7 separate regions of the Homo sapiens genome follow, and all the other regions are linked to region 2. The links are contacts of gene promoters, found by promoter capture Hi-C in blood cells and fetal thymus (Javierre and others, 2016). All regions are on one chromosome and are shown on one strand. The core of a region is centred on a gene start or on the middle of the fragment in contact, and the rest is flanking DNA. Distances in the headings are between cores, read along the strand shown. Region 1 has its middle 18 kb from the start of NOA1. Region 2 holds the start of AASDH (aminoadipate-semialdehyde dehydrogenase). Region 3 overlaps IGFBP7 (insulin like growth factor binding protein 7). Region 4 overlaps CLOCK (clock circadian regulator). Region 5 has its middle 2.5 kb from the start of TMEM165. Region 6 overlaps POLR2B (RNA polymerase II subunit B). Region 7 holds the start of IGFBP7-AS1 (IGFBP7 antisense RNA 1).

The links. The method cuts DNA at HindIII sites, captures the fragments that hold promoters and counts their contacts. A CHiCAGO score of 5 or more calls a contact.
Region 1: a fragment that was not itself captured here is called in contact with the fragment with the promoter of AASDH in region 2 in 10 of 17 cell types (naive CD4 T cells, naive CD8 T cells, total CD4 T cells and 7 more); the score reaches 9.8 in naive CD4 T cells.
Region 3: a contact is called between a fragment that was not itself captured here and the fragment with the promoter of AASDH in region 2, in 1 of 17 cell types (monocytes). The highest score is 5.9, in monocytes.
Region 4: a fragment that was not itself captured here is called in contact with the fragment with the promoter of AASDH in region 2 in 2 of 17 cell types (total CD8 T cells and total B cells); the score reaches 6.3 in total CD8 T cells.
Region 5: a fragment that was not itself captured here is called in contact with the fragment with the promoter of AASDH in region 2 in 1 of 17 cell types (naive B cells); the score reaches 5.4 in naive B cells.
Region 6: a contact is called between a fragment that was not itself captured here and the fragment with the promoter of AASDH in region 2, in 1 of 17 cell types (naive CD8 T cells). The highest score is 5.7, in naive CD8 T cells.
Region 7: a contact is called between the fragment with the promoter of IGFBP7-AS1 here and the fragment with the promoter of AASDH in region 2, in 1 of 17 cell types (monocytes). The highest score is 8.9, in monocytes.

What each region holds. Positions count from the first base shown.
Region 1 is chr4:56,958,415-56,961,114 of GRCh38, reverse strand. No RefSeq gene overlaps it. Among named protein-coding and RNA genes, the nearest start is that of NOA1, 18 kb to the left of the region's middle. The HindIII fragment of the contact is 9,798 bases long and covers 1-2,700 here.
Region 2 is chr4:56,386,185-56,388,946 of GRCh38, reverse strand. It overlaps AASDH (aminoadipate-semialdehyde dehydrogenase), which reads left to right and starts at 1,456. Exons shown (of 15, transcript NM_181806.4): 1 at 1,456-1,585. RefSeq lists enhancers at 1,112-1,161, 1,024-1,530, 1,192-1,561, 1,531-2,038. The HindIII fragment of the contact is 3,410 bases long and covers 1-2,746 here.
Region 3 is chr4:57,051,384-57,054,083 of GRCh38, reverse strand. All of the region lies in intron 1 of IGFBP7 (insulin like growth factor binding protein 7), which reads left to right. Among named protein-coding and RNA genes, the nearest start is that of IGFBP7-AS1, 57 kb to the left of the region's middle. The HindIII fragment of the contact is 3,080 bases long and covers 1-2,700 here.
Region 4 is chr4:55,535,023-55,537,722 of GRCh38, reverse strand. All of the region lies in intron 1 of CLOCK (clock circadian regulator), which reads left to right. Among named protein-coding and RNA genes, the nearest start is that of CLOCK, 11 kb to the left of the region's middle. The HindIII fragment of the contact is 597 bases long and covers 1,063-1,659 here.
Region 5 is chr4:55,392,133-55,394,832 of GRCh38, reverse strand. No RefSeq gene overlaps it. Among named protein-coding and RNA genes, the nearest start is that of TMEM165, 2.5 kb to the left of the region's middle. The HindIII fragment of the contact is 2,154 bases long and covers 339-2,492 here.
Region 6 is chr4:57,010,635-57,013,334 of GRCh38, reverse strand. POLR2B (RNA polymerase II subunit B) reads right to left here. Exons shown (of 25, transcript NM_000938.3): 12 at 2,448-2,587; 13 at 2,235-2,346. Among named protein-coding and RNA genes, the nearest start is that of POLR2B, 33 kb to the right of the region's middle. The HindIII fragment of the contact is 8,493 bases long and covers 1-2,700 here.
Region 7 is chr4:57,108,475-57,111,174 of GRCh38, reverse strand. It overlaps IGFBP7-AS1 (IGFBP7 antisense RNA 1), which reads right to left and starts at 1,413. Exons shown (of 5, transcript NR_034081.1): 1 at 1,205-1,413. It overlaps IGFBP7 (insulin like growth factor binding protein 7), which reads left to right and starts at 790. Exons shown (of 5, transcript NM_001553.3): 1 at 790-1,298. The coding sequence starts at 824. RefSeq lists a silencer at 652-721. The HindIII fragment of the contact is 3,416 bases long and covers 1-2,304 here.

The sequences.
Region 1 (2,700 bases), core at 47-2,546, 570 kb before region 2:
TGAAATAAATGCTGGTAAGATAAGCTAGGCTGAAACGCAGTTAGAGCCATGAAATTCCTGAGAGGACCATGTTCTGTCCCAACATATGGGAGCCCCCATGTATTTCACACTCTCCTGTCTTCTCCCCACTCCTCAGTCCTCTTCTAAGTCCTCTTAGATTAAATATAATGGAGAATTTTTTAAGATGATGCAACTTGTTGTAGACCTTTCATAGTGTTTCAAAGTGAGTACTACTGGTATCTTGGGCAAGGTGGTTCTTTCTTTATATATAAAACTGCATTTCAGCCGGGCGCGGTGGCTCACGCCTGTAATCCCAGCACTTTGGAAGACCGAGGCGGGCGGATCATGAGATCAGGAGATTGAGACCATCCTGGCCAACAAGGTGAAACCCCGTCTCTACTAAAAATACAAAAATTAGCTGACTGCGCTGGCGCGTGCCTGTAGTCCCAGCTACTCCGGAGACTGGGGCAGGAAAATCCCTGGAACCTGGTAGGCGGAAGCTGCAGTGAGCCAAGATCGCGCCACTGCAGTCCAGCCTGGGCAACAGAGCAAGACTCCGTCTCAAAAAAAAACAAAAAAACTGCATTTCATTATGTCTGGTATCTCTCATCCCAGACACTAAATGCAGTAGCAACTCCCTCTGCTGTCAGTCCTGGTGACAACTGGAAAGTGCCCCCAACATCATATTACCTCTAGAGGGCGGCAGCTTCCCAAATGGAGAAAATTGATTGGCAGTTGATTTCTAGTTTTTATTTTGGAGGGAATGAAATACCATTTATTTTATAAGTTAAAATTGTGTCTGGGTGCGGTGGCTCACACCTGTAATCCAACACTTTGGGAGGCCAAGGTGGGTGGATCACCTGAGGTCGGGAGTTCGAGAGCAGCCTGACCAACATGGAGAAACCCCATCTCTACTAAAAAAAAAATACAAAATTAGCCAGGTGTGGTGGCACATGCCTGTAATCCCAGCTACTTGGGAGGCTGAGGCAGGAGAATCGCTTGAACCCGGGAGGCAGAGGTTGCGATGAGCTAAGACCGTGCCATTGCACTCCAGCCTGGGCACAAGAGCAAAACTCCATCTCAAAAAAAAAAAAAAAAATTATGGTCATTATATTTCTACCTATGGTTGAAAACAGGAGTTCACAGTTCAGAGCTTAGGCCAGGATATTTAGGTAGAATTAAAACAAAAAACAGGCAGGAAAGAAAGCCAGCAAAGGGTGAACTGGGCCTTTGTGGAGAAACAATCTAAAAACTGACTACTATCACCCTGACAACTTAAGAAAATGTATTTCAGAAAACAGGGCTCACACCCATAATCCAAACACTTTGGGAGGCCAAGGCAGGAGGATCCCTTGAAGCCAGGCATTCAAGACCAGCCCTGGCAACATAGTTAAGACCCTGTCTCTACAAAAAAAAAAATTTAATTTAGCTGGGCATGGTGACACCCACCTGTAGTCTCAGCTATTCAGGAGGCTGAGGTGGGAAGATCCCTTGAGCCTGGGAGGTTGAGGCTGCAGTAAGCCATGATTGCACCACTGCACTCCAGCCTGGGTGACAGAGCAAGACTCCATCTCAAAAAAAAAAAAAGCAGGAAAGAAAGCCAGCAAAAAGAGTGAGAAAGATGCTCTATGCCTAGAATTAGTTGAGGACTTCTACTGGGATCTGGTATTAATTTATTCCATATTGTGCCTCCAATTTAATGCAGCCTAGGATCACTGCTAGGATCAAGTGTTTCCTAGTAGATTTTCCTTTAAGAAAGTTCCATTACTGTATTGGTGCAGTAGTGCATTGCTTAGCAACAGGGATGTGTTCTAAGAAATGCATCGTTAGGCAATTTCATCTTTGGACAAACATCATAAAGTGTATTTACACAAACCTAGATGGTATAGCCTACTCTACACCTAGGCTGTATGGTATAGCCTATGGCTCCTAGGCTACAAACCTGTACAACATGTTGCTGTACTGAATTCTGTAGGCAATTGTAACACAAATCATTAGGCAATAGGTATTTTCTGACTCCATTATAATTTTACCAGACTACGGCTGTATATGTGGCCCATTGCTGACCAAGAAGTCATTATGCGATACATGACTGTACTTCTTTATCCATTAATCTGAATATAACGACATCTTTTGAATCAGTAGTCACTTACACTATGACAGGGTACAAGAATTAGTGGGCTCTTCTGGCCAGGAACGGGAGGAGAAATTAAGGGCAAAGTACCAACTCCTCACTTCCACAGATCACAGAGGTGGTTAGGGGTTGCTAGAAAACAATGAAGCAAGTTTATTCTAGATTGTTTACCTGGCTCTGCAGCACTGTGGTGTTGAGCATGTCACCTCTTTTGTATTCATGACACCCAAAAGAAGTAAAATAAATTCCATCAAAGTACTTTTTGACTTTTATGTGATATTAGGTTCAAAGTTTTATTTTAAAAAGTTACACGTAATCCCTCTGCTTTTCCCCCCTCTAATTAAACTAAAATAACAACATCTTCTTCAAAGTTACTAAGACAAATTAAAGTTGTAATATGTTTTGTATCTTTAATCACCATAAATGCCAAGCTGTGCCGATCACTAAGTCTTTACTGTATAGTTCCCCAGAGTCTAGTTTATTTAACTTGAGACACTCACTTCCCATAACAACCAAGGAGAAGCGGAGTAGAGATGCAATCTTGTGTGCCTGTGTCTCTAGTGTTC
Region 2 (2,762 bases), core at 207-2,706:
TCTAATGTGAAAGATAGAGCACAAAATCAACAGAAGAAAAAAAAAGGAAACTTGAGGGAAATAGATACTGCAAGGGAAGAAAAACTTTAAAAAAGGTATCATTAATATCAGAGAGTTGGATGATGATACTGGAATAATAAAACATCATTTTGGCAGCAATTCAGAGTCAATCAGAGGCAAACAAAACTGAAAACGTTTTAGGAAAAAGCTGACCAAGAAGACCTGAACTAAAGTAGCAGTAATGGCGATGAACATGACACTTAAAAAACGCAGGTTCTAGGCCCCTCACTAGAAAACTAGGGGATGAACCTCCGGGGATGGAGTCCAGGAATTTGGAATCTTCTAAAACATCACCACCGGCAATTCTGATGTAGCCAGCTGGGTGCTGGTCTCAAGACTGAGAACTAGAGGACATAGGGTCTAATCGGATGTAAGAGGTTAAGAAAGTGGGAAGGTTGATAACTGTCTGGCTGGGTGGATGATGGTGTCATCCCAACGTAGAAACATAGAAACATAGACAAGATACACTTTTGCCCACTTCCAACCTAAATACATAAATAAGGCTGTGTTAGTTTGAGTAGTCCATGGTACATCTTGGAAAAGTATAGTTGGCATGTGGAGATATTTTTTGCTTAGATTAGAAGCACAGTTTCTTGTCACCAACAACTACGGCTGCGAGAGCGTCCTATGCTTTTTTCTCACGTACTGTTTTGATGCAGAGCTGTCTTCGCAGTCCCTCCCCCGGCTAAAACCCCCCAAACAAAAAAATCCCGATTATTCTGCCACCAGACAGTAGCTTTAAAACACCTCTGTTATTGCCCTTGACGCTTATTGTAATAATTGACATGTCTCCAACTGTAACAATTCCCTTGGAAACAGAAAGTTCTATTCAGGCATATAGTTTACAAAACTCCACCTCGGACCTGCTTTAATTTCTTTACAGGTCCTACTAAATGCTCCTGTCAAATTCCTTAGTTATCGTTTCAATCTGCTTCCCAATTAAAATGTCAGCATCATGATGACAGGAACGTCGTTTGCAGGCGTCACTGCTGCAGCCATATCTCCAGCACGTTTCCAGAAAATGTCATTGGTTGAAAGCAATAACTCTCCTATTTCACAATGATTTCATCTCTCTTCACATCAACCCTAGGTGATGTTTTTATTCTCACCTTATGAACGAGAATACTGCGGCTCAAAATTCAAGAGTCTTGCCCAGAGTTTTTTGGCAAGTACGAAAGGGTTATGGCTCCAAACTGGTTAGCTCCGAAGTCCTTGCAAACCCTGTCCGAGACCATGCGCGACCCCAAGGAGCGCCTGAGCAGATAACCAAAAGTGAAAAAGCCTATAGACCTCTTCACTCAAGTTAGCGCCTCGGCTTCAGGAGAGGCAGCGCCAGCTCCACGCAGCCGGCCCGGGGTCGCTCGCACTGACGTCACGTAGCGACGCGGAAGATTTACGTATGGTGCCTCGCTCTGGGATAGCTTTACGGCTTCTGGGAGCTGCTGCTTCGCTGTGAGAAGTATCCGCGACGAGCTATCCGGGAAAGGGCCGAATGCGATCAAACCTAATCCGCGAGACTTGCTAAGTGAGTCGCGGCAGGGCGCGGTGTCCGGCGGGGGTCTGTGTGAAGGAGGCGAAGTGCCGCTAGGCCTGAGCCTGCTTCCACATACATTTGCTCAGCTTCAGGACCACTGCCTGACCTCGGATTTGATACATCGGGGTCTGGCGTGCTGGTGTGGTGCAGACTAACCCTGACCTGTGTGTACACTCCTGCGTCACTAGCCTCCGCCCCTCCATTCAAATGGAAATAAGTGTGCTCCGCGCTCAGCTACCCCCTAGAGTGGTTTCGAAGAGCAATGAAGAAATGTTTAGGAAGCTGTAAATTGCATTGTTACTCGTTGCATACCGTAAATTTAGAAGCCGGGGAATTGGGAAAATAAAGTTTCTAGATTATTTATCCATTTTTAAAACAGCCAGTGGCCTAGAGAGAGGCCCCATAGCAATTGAATTTGCTGACACTCTTAAGATCTTTGTTGACTAAATAGCAGCTTCTACAGTTGTAGCAAGTAAATTTATTCCTTTTACATGTAAAATCTGCTTACCAGAGTTTGCTTTTTTTTTTCCTTTTTTTTTTTTTTTTTTTTTTTGAGACGGAGTCTCGCTCTGTCGCCCAGGCCGGACTGCGGACTGCAGTGGCGCAATCTCGGCTCACTGCAAGCTCCGCTTCCCGGGTTGACGCCATTCTCCTGCCTCAGCCTCCCGAGTAGCTGGGACTACAGGCGCCCGCCACCGCGCCCGGCTAATTTTTTGTATTTTTAGTAGAGACGGGGTTTCACCTTGTTAGCCAGGATGGTCTCGATCTCCTGACCTCATGATCCACCCGCCTCGGCCTCCCAAAGTGCTGGGATTACAGGCGTGAGCCACCGCGCCCGGCCTTTTTTTCCTTTTTAAGGTCTCAAACATTTGGGCATTAATAAGTTTAGTATTCTCTACTGCAGAGAATGTTATTTGTGATTCAATGAATGAAAATGAAAACCTGAGACAAGAAGAATGGATTTTACCTTAAATGTCTGTAGCAACCATTGGGAAAATGGAAAGAAACATCTTAATTATCGTATAGATGTGTAGGTACCCTTCTGCGCTACCTGTATGTTGCGAAATGAACTCATTCCTCATAATTTAAGCGCCTGCTGCAGAAAGCCTCCCTTATATTTACATAATGATCATTGTATGTCTGAGGAAAGCTTAAAATTGTATCTTGT
Region 3 (2,700 bases), core at 99-2,598, 670 kb before region 2:
GAGCTTGGACTCCTGGGAGTCCAAGACCAACCTGGGCAATGTAACAAGATCTCATCCCAAGAAAAGAAGGAGAAATTTCCTAGGGAAACTCACTATCTAGGCTTCTAGGAATCCCAGAATCAGGTGTGACCATCCACGTGGTTAGCAATAAGTTTCCTATGGGAACTTCCCACCCAATTCAGTGCTTGCAGAATAAGAAAGCGCTAGCAAAAACATTTAATATCTTGTATTTAAGGTGAGTCATAGTCCAGACAGGACAGGCCCATGAGATGTGGAAAAAATGTGTTTCCAAGGCTATGTTAACATCACTAGGGAGTTTCGTCTCGGGAAAGCACTCTCTATAAAGTCAGTTCTTCCAGGTCCTCAAACCAATTCAAAACCTAGCCTGCTGATTCAACTTGTGTGGACCTCAGCCAGTCTGGTATTAGGATGATAGTGTAGGTATTCCAGCTTCCTAGGGGAGCTCTGCTGAATACGTTAGCTCATCCCTGGGCAATGTTGTTGGCACAGCCCCATGTTACCTCATCTATCACATGGTTACCAGAGCGAGCTCACCATCTTGCACACCTGAACATGGTTTCAAGTCCTTCATGGATTTGCTTCATGGCAGTAGCAGGGTCCCTTCAAGAATGACACCAGACCACATGTACCAGAACCACCATGGGCAAGAACCACACCCTGGAGTCAGACTCTTTGTCAGTACCCCACTTTTTTTTAATGCTAGACCCATACAAGGAAGGGGACAAGAATAAGAAAACATCATCAAGGGCCAGGTGCGGTGGCTCACGCCTATAATCCCAGCACCCTGGGAGCCCGAAGCGGGCAGATCACCTGAGGTCAGGAGTTCGAGATCAGCCTGATCAACATGGTGAAACTCCATCACTGCTAAAATTACAAAAATTAGCCAGGTGTGATGGTGTGTGCCTGTAGTATCAGCTACTCTGGAGGCTGAGGCAGGAGAACTGCTTGAACCTGGGAGGCAGGGGCTGCAGTGAGCCGAGATTGTACCACTGCACTCCAGCCTGGGCGACAGAGTAAGACTTCATTTCAAAAAAAAAAAAAAAGATAGAAAAGAAAGCATCATCAAATAAGAGATTTGTTTGCAAGCAACCAACACATTGCAAGAAGCAACTTTCTGTGCATGTTCTGTGGTCAATTCAAAATTACAGTGATAATTGTGAGATATCACAAGATTGACAGTCATCGTAGTGAGATATTTGAGTACTATGTCCACTTGAGAAAAACAGACTTCATGCTCCCTACGAAGATTCTCAGCATCAAAGATTGGACCCAAAACGAGGTGTCTTATTAATCCAGAGGTAACTAGCAATCAGCCAGGAACTCAACTCACAAGACCTGGGCACGCGGTCACCAGGGCAGCATTGTATTGAATGGTCTGCTCTTAGATGGACTGGCCCTGCAAATACGTGCCTGGAAGCTAAGCAAGGCCGTGCTATTCACTTATCTGCTTTACCTGGGGTGGGGTGGGGACGGGCCAGGTGGTCAGCAGTGAGCTGATGGAACTCCCTCTGGAGAAACTAGTGAGAGGGAGTGCCAAATCTGTCTTCCTTCCACCCAAAGGACCCCACATAGCCTTCCCAGGGCTAAAATGTCAGCTAGACAGTGCTTGCCTTGGCACTTCTGGTCTCCCCACTGGGGTTCAGTGCCTCCTCATGGCCCAGGTGATACCTGAAATTCAGCAAATTTAAACCCAAGTCCACCCTTTCCCCTTCTTCAATCCAGCACCTTCCTCAGACTGACACCCCTGCTTCTGTTCATGGTGCGGCAGCCTCCTGGAACCTTTGAGGCTCACAGCCTTTAAATCATGCCTCTCTTTCCTACATCCAGTCAGTTACTGGGTAGTGTTAGTTCTTCCTGAATAATCCCCCAAGTCTTCCCCTTTTCTCTGTCTTCTCATTGCTGCGACCTTGAGTTAGAGCCTTAATCCCCGCCATGTCCCATCCTGATGCGGAGACCTCCAAAATCATCTTGGGAAATGCCACTTGAATCATGACACTCCCACTTTCAGAGACACATTGGAGGGTGAGGCCCCACCTCATCTGCTTTCTGCTGTGCCCTACACCACACACGAATCCTCTTCCCGAGCTGGCCCGCATGCTCACTATTCAAGGCAGGCCAGCGTTTTCCTGCCTCTCCTCAGGCAGGTCCCTGTCTTTCACCTTCCTTGATGAAAGTCTAATTTCTGAAATGAAAAGCAACAGCTCATACTTACTGAATGTTTACCCCATGCCAGGTACTGTGCTAATGGCTGTATCTTGTTTGATCCTTTTGATGGTCTAATGACTGGGATACTATCATTCCATTTCACAGATGAATAAAGCAGGGGAAGTGAAATAACTTGTGCAATGTTGCATAACTCAGGAGTGGTAGAGCAGAATTCCTGATTCCAAGTCCACGCTCCAAAGTCACTATAGTCTATTACCTCCCAGCATTTTGTTCTTACTCTTAATGCGCTAAGCCTCCCCAACACCACCCCAACAGATTATATTTAGAGAAGAGGAAGCAGTTCTTACACACTTTTGCCCTAAACAGTGTTTGGCAGGGTCCCATTATTATAAACTATTGGTTCTTCATTCACACTAAAGTGGAAATGACTAACAGTAGCTTCCATAACTAGATGAATTTGCCTTAAACTAAAAGCCTGAGATTAAATCTGGCCTATGCTGCTTAAGCTGTTGT
Region 4 (2,700 bases), core at 112-2,611, 850 kb after region 2:
TCTCAGGCTCAAGTGATCCTCCCACCTCAGCCTCCTGAGTAGCTGGGACTGCAGGCATGTGCCACCATGCCTGGCTAATTTTTTATTTTTATTTTTATTTTTTTGAGACTGGGTCTCACTCCGTTGCCTAGGCTTTAGTGCAGTGGCCCAATCACGGGGTCACCACAGTGTCGACGTCTCAGGCTCAAGAGATCCTCGCACCAGAGTCTATTAAGTGCTGGGATTACAGGCGCGTGCCATCATGCCTGGCTAATTTTTGTATTTTTTGTAGAGATAGGGTTTCACTATGTTGCCCAGGCTGGTCGTCAACTCCTGAGCTCAGGCAATCCACTTGCCTCAGCCTCCCAAAGTGCTAGGATTACAGGTGTAAGCCACCACACCTGGCCAGAGTTTATTACAATTTTTTCTGAAGACAAGGATGTCACTGTGTTGCCCATGTTGGTCTTGAACTCAGTTCAAGCAATCCTCTTTCCTTGGCCTCCTGGAGTGCTGGGATACAGATGTGAGCCTCCACTCCTGGCCGTTTCCAGTTTTTGATATGTTTCCATTTTCATTCCATTCAGAGTACTTTATAATTTCTTTCCTGATGTCTTACTGGGTCTATAGTTTATTTATAAGTGTGTTATATAGTTTTCAAATATTTGAGGATTTTCCAGAGATCATTGTTATTTTTAATTTAATTCCATTGTAATGAGATAATTTTAAATTTATTCGGATTTATTTTATGGCCTAGAATATATTCTATCATTGTAAGTGTTCTTCATGTGCAGTTGAAAAGAATGTGTGTTTTGTTGTTAGGTGGAGTGTTTTACAAATGTCAGTTAGGTCAAGTCTGTTGATTGTTTTGTTTATGTCTCATAATTTTTTATTGAATGCCAGGCATTGTGTAGTAAAAAACTTAAGTAAGCATTACCAGGTAATGGTACATTTTGCCGGGTTGGGAGAGGGGTGGGGGAAGGGGAAGTTCATTTTCTATGCAGATAGGCTAGGGAGCTGTATTAGTCTGTTTGCATTACTATAAAAGAATACGTGAGACTGGGTAATTTATAAAGAAAAGAAGCTTAATTGGCTTACGGTTCTCCAAAGTGTATAGGAAGCATGGTGCCGGCATCTGCTTATAGTGAGGCTTAGTAAGTTTCTAGTCATGGCTGAAAGTGAAGGGAGAGCAGGTGCATGACAAGGCAAGAGTGGGAGCAAGAGAGCAAGGTGGGGCAGGTCCCAGACTTTTCAACAACCAGATCTTGTGTGAACTCACTTATTACCGAGGAGATGGTACTAAACCATTCATGAGGGATCTGCCCCCATGATCCAGTTGCCTCCTACTGGGCCCAACTTCCAACATTGGGAATTACATTTACATTTCATCATGAGATTTGGAGGGGACAAGCATCCAACCCATATCAGGAGCCCATCATCTTAAATTATGTGGAGGCTGGGTTGCTATTTTAATAGTTTGCTATCCTTATTTTTCCTTGTTTTTTCAGATGTTGTCTTCTAAGGCATTCATTTCAAAGCCTATTGGTCTTGTCCCTTTAGCAATGCCAAAGGTAGGAAATTTCACTTTGCTTTTCAAAGTTTTTTAGTTGACTTTGTAGCCTTTTACCCTGCACGGTTTTAAAATTCAGCAAGTATGCTGAGGGGAGATACCACCTTTAAGCTTGAGGTCCTTGCGTGAAACTTTTTAGGAGAATTAGTCTCCTAGTGTTGTTATTCCAGCCCTGTGTGAACACCAAAAGCTGTCCTGGCTTCTGTGTTCCTCAGCAACAATATTTTACACAGGTCAGGCCTCAATTTTCAGCCTCTAACCCAAGCAATAATTAGGAAATACTCCCAGGGAAAAGACAGATACTGGTCATCTAAATACCTTTAAAATATTCTCCCCATCTCTGAGGTGGAGGTTGCAGTGAGCCAAGATTGTGCCACTGCACTCCAGCCTGGGTGACAGAGCAACAAGACTCCATCTCAAAAAAAAAAAAAAAAAAAGATTCTCCCATCACTGGAATTTTAGACCTTCTTTCCCATGCTTCCACAGCTCCTCACTAACTTTAAAAATATGATTTTTATAATTTATTTAGCTTTTTAAGTTGTTCTTAGCAAGAATATTGGCCTGCTTCAAACTAGTTCATTTTACCTAAGTGCAGACAATTTCCTATTATTATTATTATTGTCATTTATTTTTGCAGAGATAGGATGTGACTTTGTTGCCCAGGCTTGTCTTGAACTCCTGGGCTCAAGTGATCCTCCTGCTTTGACCTTCCAAATTATTAGGATTACAGGCATGAGCCACTCTAGCTGGCGCCTGTCATTTTTTAAAGGTATGCAGAATACTCAATATTTATGAGCTGTTTTATGTAGTGTTCTTTAGGTATTTTGTTGTTGGGTTTCAGTTTTTGATGTATATTTTTTAAAATTGATTTTTATTGGGGTATAATGTATATATGTTAAAATCTGCCCAATTTAAGTATGCAGCTTGAGTTTTGACAAACCTAAACATTCTTGTAATCACCATAATCAAGAAGCAAAAAAATTTTTTTTTATACTGATAAAGAGGTCTTTCTGTATTGACCAGGTTGGAGTGTAGTGGCAATATAGCGAGGCCTTTGGCTCTCCAAAAAAATAGAAAAAAATTAGCCAGACATGGTGGCATGCACTTGTGATCCCACCTACTCAGGAGGCTGAGATGGGAGGATTGCTTGAGCC
Region 5 (2,700 bases), core at 166-2,665, 990 kb after region 2:
GGAGTGCAATGGTGAGATCTCGGCCCACTGCAACCTCCTCCTCCCGGGTACAAGAGATTCTCCTGCCTCAGCTTCCCGAGTAGCTGGGATTACAGGCATGCTCCACCATACGCGGCTAACTTTGTAATTTTAGTAGAGATGGGGTTTCTCCATGTTGGTCAGGCTGGTCTCGAACTCCAGACCTCAGGTGATCTGCCGGCCTCGTCCTCTCAAAGTGCTGGGATTACAGGTGTGAGCCACCGCGGCCGGCCTCCGTCCATGTTATTCTGTCCGTAATTCCCCTTCTTCCATTCTCTCCTTGTAAACTCCTACTCATACTTCCAAAACCTATTCAAGCTTCCACTCTCAGAACTTTTCCCCAACACATGGCGTTACAGAATTTGTCACTTGTTCCTTCATGTTATTGCTTTATGCATTCTTCTATTACTGTGTAAGTAGGATGCCTCCACTTACAGTTTGGGGTGTGTTAAAAGAAAAACCTTAGACAAATTAAACTTAACAGCGTTTAATCAAGCAAAGAACCCAAAGAATGATCTGCAAATCAAAAAGACCCCAAATCAAAGTAAGTTCAGAGAGGCTCCAGTCTTGCCGAGTGGTCGGAAAAAATAAAGTGACTTACAGAAAACATAATTGAGGGACAGAAACAGCTGGATTGGTTGTAGCTCAGGTTTGCCCTATTTGAACACGGTTTGAACAGTTGGCCACTTGTGATTGGCCAGAACTCTGTGATTGGTACAAGAATAGGTTACAGTCTGTTTACATACCCAATTAGGCTACAGTTCACCATGTATGGGGAAACCTTTAGGCCTAACTTAAAATATGTAAGGAGGCAGCTTTACACTAAATTTAACAGATGCAACTATCATCCCTGGAGTGCAAATGTTTGAGCTTTCAGAAGCCAGTAATAACATAAAACCCAGAAGCCCAAACTTCAACTACCTCCCCTTAATGCATACAGGATTTGCTGTGCTTAAAAGGGGCCTGAAAGGGAGGCTTGAGGTCCCAAGGGAGGGACCTGAAAGGAGCAGCTTAGGCTGAAGACAGAGCCAGAAGGGTGAATGTAGCAAAACTGGCTGTGTGTCCCTCATTGCTGAAAGCTGCTTTGTTTATTTTCTAGGATGGGCTGCCCACACTCCAGGGCTTTCTCACAGGAAGGACTCCTGGCCAAATTCAGTCATCTCAACATATGAGGCAGTGAGGACTTCTGGGCTACAGCTGCAGGATGCTGAAGCACCAGCTGCTGAGCATGCAGTGGTTCAGGGGCAAGGCAGCAAAGCTATTTGGCAGAAGATGTAACATAAATGGAGATAGAGCATTGGCGAACTGGCACAGTGGTGTCAGCAAAGCATCAGAATCTGGGCCAGAGTGAGACCTTTCTAGCCTGCCCCAGTGTCACCCTGATCCAAGGGCCTTCAGGTGCTGCCAGGCTAGGCTCTAGGTGTCTGATTCTCATGGGATCTGGTATTTCTGTTTCCACACACATCTACCTCCTGGGATCCGTGCTCAGGCGTGCTAAATCGAGGCTGGCTCCAGTTTTCACCACCTTGAGGGTTTAGAGCCATCATCCTTCTAGTCCTCATTGGTGACTAACTCCCTTAAAAAAAGCAATTAAAAAACTATAGGAGCTTTCCTGATACCTTTCTTGAAGGACAACTGAAGCTACTTATTTAACCCCCTACCCAATAAGGATGTGGGTGGCGCAACAATTCCAAGATGATATATTTTTTAATCATAGCCTACACCGATATAGTCTTACTAAAATGTAACCACTGTCAGGCATCCTATGGAAAGAAACCCTACTACATGTGCATTACATTGTATTTTATTTAATTAATTTATTTATTTATTTTTGAGGTGGAGTCTCGCTCTGTTGCCCAGGCTGGAATGCAGTGGCAAGATCTCGGCTCACTGCAGCCTCCGCCTCCCGGGTTCAAGCAATTCTCCTGCCTCAGCCTCCTGAGTAGCTGGGATTACAGGCATGTGCTACACGCCCCACTAATTTTTTGTATTTTTAGTAGAGACGGGTTTACCATGTTAGCCAGGATGGTCTTGATCTCCTGACCTCGTGATCCGTCCGCCTTGGCCTCCCAAAAGTGCTGGGATTATAGGCATGAGCCACTGTGCCTGACCTATATTTTATTTTTTATTTATTTATGTAGAGATGGAGTCTCGCTCTGTCACCCAGGCTGGAGTGCAGTGGTGCGATCTCAGCTCACTGCAACCTCTACCTCCCAGGTTCAAGCGATTCTCCTGCCGCAGCCTCCAAAGTAGCTGGGACTATAGGCGCCCGCCACCATGCCTGGCTAATTTTTGTATTTTTAGTAGAGACAGGGTTTCACCATGTTAGCAAGGCAGGTCTCGAACTCCTGACCTCAAGTAATCCATCCACCTCGGCCTCCCAAAGTGCTGGGATTGCAGGTGTGAGCCACTGAGCCGGGCCTGCACTGTATTTTAATGTCTTTTATTCCAACACCCTTACTAAGCCTTAAGCTTCTAGATGGTAAGGTTATGCCTTTTATCTTTATATTTCTAGCACCTAGTAGATTATATAAGAAGGTAATGGGAATAGTTATCATTAAAGTAGTAGTAAAACTTTATTGAATGCTATTCTGATCCAGTCAGAGCACTAAGTGTGTTACATGAATTATTTCTATCCTCCTTTTTGCAAATGAGAAATCTGAGACTTAGGTCAAGGAACTT
Region 6 (2,700 bases), core at 88-2,587, 620 kb before region 2:
GAATCACTCTCTTCCTGACTTCAAGCTGTAAATAAGCCTGGGTCAAAACCCAGGGCCAGGCTGGGCTCAGTGGCTCACACCTGTTATCCCAGTACTTTGGAAGGCCAAGGCAGGCAGATGGCTTGAGCCCAGGACTTCAAGACCAGCCTGGCCAACTATGGCAAAACCCCATCTCTACCAAAAATACAAAAATTGGCCAGGTGCAGTGGCTCACGTCTATAATCCCAGCACTTTGGGAGGCTGAGGCAGGTGGATCACCTGAGGTCAGGAGTTCGAGACCAGGCTGGCCAACATGGAGAAACCCAGTCTCTACTAAAAATACAAAAATTAGCCAGGCATGGTGGCAGGCACCTGTAATCCCAGCTACTCAGGAGGCTGAAGCAGGAGAATTGCTTGAACCCGGGAGGCAGACGTTGCAGTGAGCCGAGATCATGCCACTGCACTCCAGCCTGAGCAAGAGAGTGAGACTCCACCTCAAAAAAATAAAAATAGAAATACAAAAATTAGCCGGGCATGGTGGTACACATCTGTAATCCCAGCTACTCAGGAGGCTGAGGCATGAGAATTTCTTGAACCTGGGAGACAGAGGTTGCAGTGAGCTAAGATAGCAACACTCTACTCCAGCCTGGGCAACAAAGCCAGACTCTGTCCCTGCCCCCCAACAACAATAACAAAAAAACACTCAGGGTCTGCTGCTGGAAAAGGCCCAGAACAACCAAACTCTCTTCTCTGCTGTTTTAGGTACAAAGACCAGCTACTGGCTAAGCGTGTTCAGTTTCTCTCAAAAACCACTTTCACCCAAGGTATAGATTTGGGAAAATTAAAAGCCTGAACTACATTCCGCAAACAGTATACTAAAACCCTTACTTGGGAGAGTAATAAAGTTCACAATATATTGTAATGATTTTTTTTTTTTTTAATAAATTTTTGGAGACAGAGTCTCACTCTGTCACCCAGGCTGGAGTACAATGGTGCAATCTCTGCTCATTGCAACCTCTGCCTCCCGGATTTAAGCAATTCTCATGCCTCAGCTTCCCGAGTAGCTGGGACTACAGGCACATGCTACCATGCCCAGCTGATTTTTTTATTTTTAGTAGAGACAGGGTTTTGCCATGTTGGCCAGGCTGGTCTCAAACTCCTGACCTCAAGTGATCCGCCTGCCTCAACTTCCCAAAGTGCTGGGATTACAGGCATGAGCCACCAGGCCCGGCCTTATTGTAATGATTTTTTTAAAACCCATCCTAATCCCAAAGCACTTCAATATCCTCCAAAATATAAAAGAATCTATTAGTGGTATATCACATTTTATTAATGAATCTCTGGATTCAAAGGATAAATCCCAGATGGTTATTCCCTTTTAAAAAGTATTCTCAGCTTTATAAAAAGATTCCCAAAAGAATTTTTACTTTAAAATGTAATTTGAGTTCTAAAATATAATTTAATAATTTAAAATGTGCCAAAATTTTTGGAAGCATGCATCGAAAGATTAAGGCAAGCAATAACTTCTTTTTTTGAGATGGAGTCTCGCTCTGTCGCCAGGCTGGAGTGCAGTGGTGTGATCTTGGCTCACTGCAACCTCCGCCTCCTGGGTTCAAGCAATTCTCCTGCTTCAGCTTCCTGAGTAGCTGGGACTACAGGCGCGCGCCACCACGCCCAGCTAATTTTTGTATTTTTAGTAGAGACAGGGTTTCACCATGTTGGCCAGGATGGTCTCAATCTCTTGACCTTGTGATCCGCCTGCCTTAGCCTCCCAAAGTGCTGGGATTACAGGCGTGAGCCACCATGCCCAGGCTTTTTTTTATTTTTTGAGACAGAGACCCACTCTGTCACCCAGGCTGGAGTGCAGAGGTGCAATCTCACCTCACCATAACCCCCGCCTCCCGGGTTCAAGTGATTCTCCTGTCTCAGCCTCCCGAGTAGCTGCGATTACAGGCCCATGCCACCGTGCCTGGCTAATTGTTGTATTTTTAGTAGAGATGGGGTTTCGCCATATTGGCCAGGCTGCGCTTGAACTCCTGACCTCAGGTGATCTGCGCCTCGGCCTCCCAAAGTGCTGGGATTACAGGCATGAGCCACTGCACCCGGCCTAGCAATAACTTATAATTAAATTTACACTTTACAGTTCAAGGGAATAAAGTTCAAAGAAAAGATGCCAATGCAAAGATAACTTTCACTAGTCCTATGCCTTGTTTAAAAATCTCACAGTCCACACCCTCTTAACTAAAGATTCTTACTTCAGACACAATGATGTCCATCTGACGTCTCAATTTCCTTAGGGTGTTCATAAGTTGTTCGGGATCTTTATGTATTCCAACCCAGCAGCCATTAACAAAAATCTTGGTTGCACTACAATGAAAAAGCAAAAGCATTTTACACTTAACAATTCTATACTAAGCAACAACTAAAGATTAACTATAGTTTAAAAAACTAATTCCATCTATACACACTCAGCAATAGCTGCAGGAGAAATTTCTTCTAAATTTTCCATACTCCATTCTTCTAAAAATTCCAGAATTGGAGATGGTTGAGATCCAACTGAAATATACGCCATCAAGGCTAAATTCTTCACAAGTCCTACAGCATGGCCCTAAAAAATAAACCAAGTATTAGTCATTCTGATTTTACATGCCTATCAAACTTCTTTTCCATAAACATTTTTCCTTCAATGTGATTTCAAGATTTATTCTTACTTTCTAAGAA
Region 7 (2,700 bases), core at 164-2,663, 720 kb before region 2:
CAACGAGGAAGGAGCTGGGACCCCTGCTCCTCTCAGCTGCGCTCTGTTCTCCCGAGAGGCTTGCTGGAGGGCGAGCAGTTCAGCAAGAACTCAAAACAAGGGCACAGCTCTCACACGGATTCCAGTACTCACTGAAAACGGCTCAGCACAAAAAAAGCACAGAGTCTTGTTGAATGCCACTGGGAGACAAAGCGGGGAGGGAGGTGCAGGCAGTTAAGAGGTTCCAGAAAGGGAAGTGGTTGGCAACGGTTTGTCCTTTTAGTGCTTGACACCCAAGACCACAGCAGGCCTGTGGCCAGCGGGGACACAGTCCACAAGTGGGGGTTTTTAACAGCTTGTTCTTAAGAGAGCTTCCCAAACCACAGAGTAATGAGCACTCAGGTGTCTCAGGCCCACGGAGGATTTAATAGATGAAACCCTGGATCGTCTCGAAGCCGTGGTTGTTAAGAAGTTTAAATATATTGACCGGAAACGGGGAGAAACCAGAGGGTGGAAGAGCCGCTCGCACTGCGGTGCGATCCCTGAGGGCTCGGGGCAGGGGACTGGGGACCGAGCAGGAGCTGGCGGGGTGAGCTCTGCGAAGCGGGCGTGAGACCGAGCGCCCATGGGCCGGTCACGCCGGGTGCCCGCTCACCCCCCGACGCCAGCAGGAGCGCGCGCGCAGGCCCCGCGGGGCCGGGAGGGCGGCACGGGCGGGGCCCCCGTGCTCTCACCGCCCCGGGGTGTGGTTCCCGCGGACAGGCCGGGCGGGGCGGCGGGTTTAAGGCGCCGGCCGGCCCGACACGGCTCACTCGCGCCCTTGCCGCTGCCACCGCACCCCGCCATGGAGCGGCCGTCGCTGCGCGCCCTGCTCCTCGGCGCCGCTGGGCTGCTGCTCCTGCTCCTGCCCCTCTCCTCTTCCTCCTCTTCGGACACCTGCGGCCCCTGCGAGCCGGCCTCCTGCCCGCCCCTGCCCCCGCTGGGCTGCCTGCTGGGCGAGACCCGCGACGCGTGCGGCTGCTGCCCTATGTGCGCCCGCGGCGAGGGCGAGCCGTGCGGGGGTGGCGGCGCCGGCAGGGGGTACTGCGCGCCGGGCATGGAGTGCGTGAAGAGCCGCAAGAGGCGGAAGGGTAAAGCCGGGGCAGCAGCCGGCGGTCCGGGTGTAAGCGGCGTGTGCGTGTGCAAGAGCCGCTACCCGGTGTGCGGCAGCGACGGCACCACCTACCCGAGCGGCTGCCAGCTGCGCGCCGCCAGCCAGAGGGCCGAGAGCCGCGGGGAGAAGGCCATCACCCAGGTCAGCAAGGGCACCTGCGAGCAAGGTGGGCACGAGCGCTTCCCTCTCCAACCCTGCGCCGCTCGGCCCAGCGAAGGGCACATCCGACGGGGCGTCCGCGGCGGCCTCGCCCCGCGCTGCTCACTGCGATTCCCCCGCGGGCATCCCAGGAGCCAGATGGGAGGGAAAGAGTTGGCAGCCGCGGAATGCCAGGAGCGGTGGGCGACGCCCCCCCTTCTCCTTTTTGGTGGTTTTATTTTGAGAGTTTGCTGCGTGCGTCCAGAAAGTGAGGGCCGGGTGTATATGTAGAAAAGATTTTCCGAGACCTCAGACTTCCCCATGCCCAAAGCGCACCCAACTCGTGCTAACATCTGTCCATTTCTCATCATTCTTGGCTTGGGGATGTAGAGAGAGGTGAAGTCAAGAGATGGGGGAAAGGAGTTTGACAATTAAATATAAAGTAAGGACTTCCAGACAGACTTTTTTTTTTAAAAGATAGGATCTTGCTCTGTCGCCCAGGGTGGAGGGCAGTGGCACGATCTTGGCCCACTGCAACCTCTGCCTCAAGCGATCCTCCTGCCTCAGCCTCCCAAGTAGCTGGGACTATAAGCCTGTGCCACCACGCCTGGCCAATTTTTGGTTTTTTGTTTTGTTTTGTTTTGTTTTATAGCGACGGAGTTTCACTATGTTGCCTAGGCTGGTCTCGAACTCCTGAGCTCAAGTAATCCCGGCCTGCTGGGATTACAGGCATAAACCACCGTGCACAGCCCTGATTTCTTAGTATTGAAGAAAATAGTCCACTTTCTAAAAATTATAGGTTCTCAAACAGTAATCTAACTAGCTAATTATTTGTGGGCAAAAATAAAATACAAACTCTTTGAAGACTGTTTTTGTGATGCACTTTGTTGTCAACCTTCTGACCATTTTGTTTTTCCTTCCTATTTCTTTGATTTGTATTGTTTTGCATAATTTGTCCCCAGGATACACTGTTCAGCAGAAATGTCTTTGAGATTATGTTTGATTGTTTATTTTATTCCAAACAAGTCCAAGCTTGCTGTAAATGAAATAAGGAAATAGGCCGGGTGGGTTGGCTCACGTCTGTAATCCCAGCACTTTGGGAGGCCAAGATGGGCAGATCACGAGGTCAGGAGTTCGAGATCAGCCTGACCAACACGGTGAAACCCCATCTCTAATAAAAAATATATATATATACATTAGCTGGGCATGGTGGTGCATGCCTGTAATCACAGCTACTCAGGAGGCTGAGGCAGGAGAATCGCTTGAATCTGGGAGGCGGAGGTTGCAGTGAGCCGAGATCACATGACAGCACTCCAGCCTGGGTGACAGACAGAGACCCCATCTCAAAAAAAAAAGAAAGAAAGAAGAAAATAAAGTCTGGACTTGCAAATACACGCACATACACACACACATAGAAATTTTAACTCTAA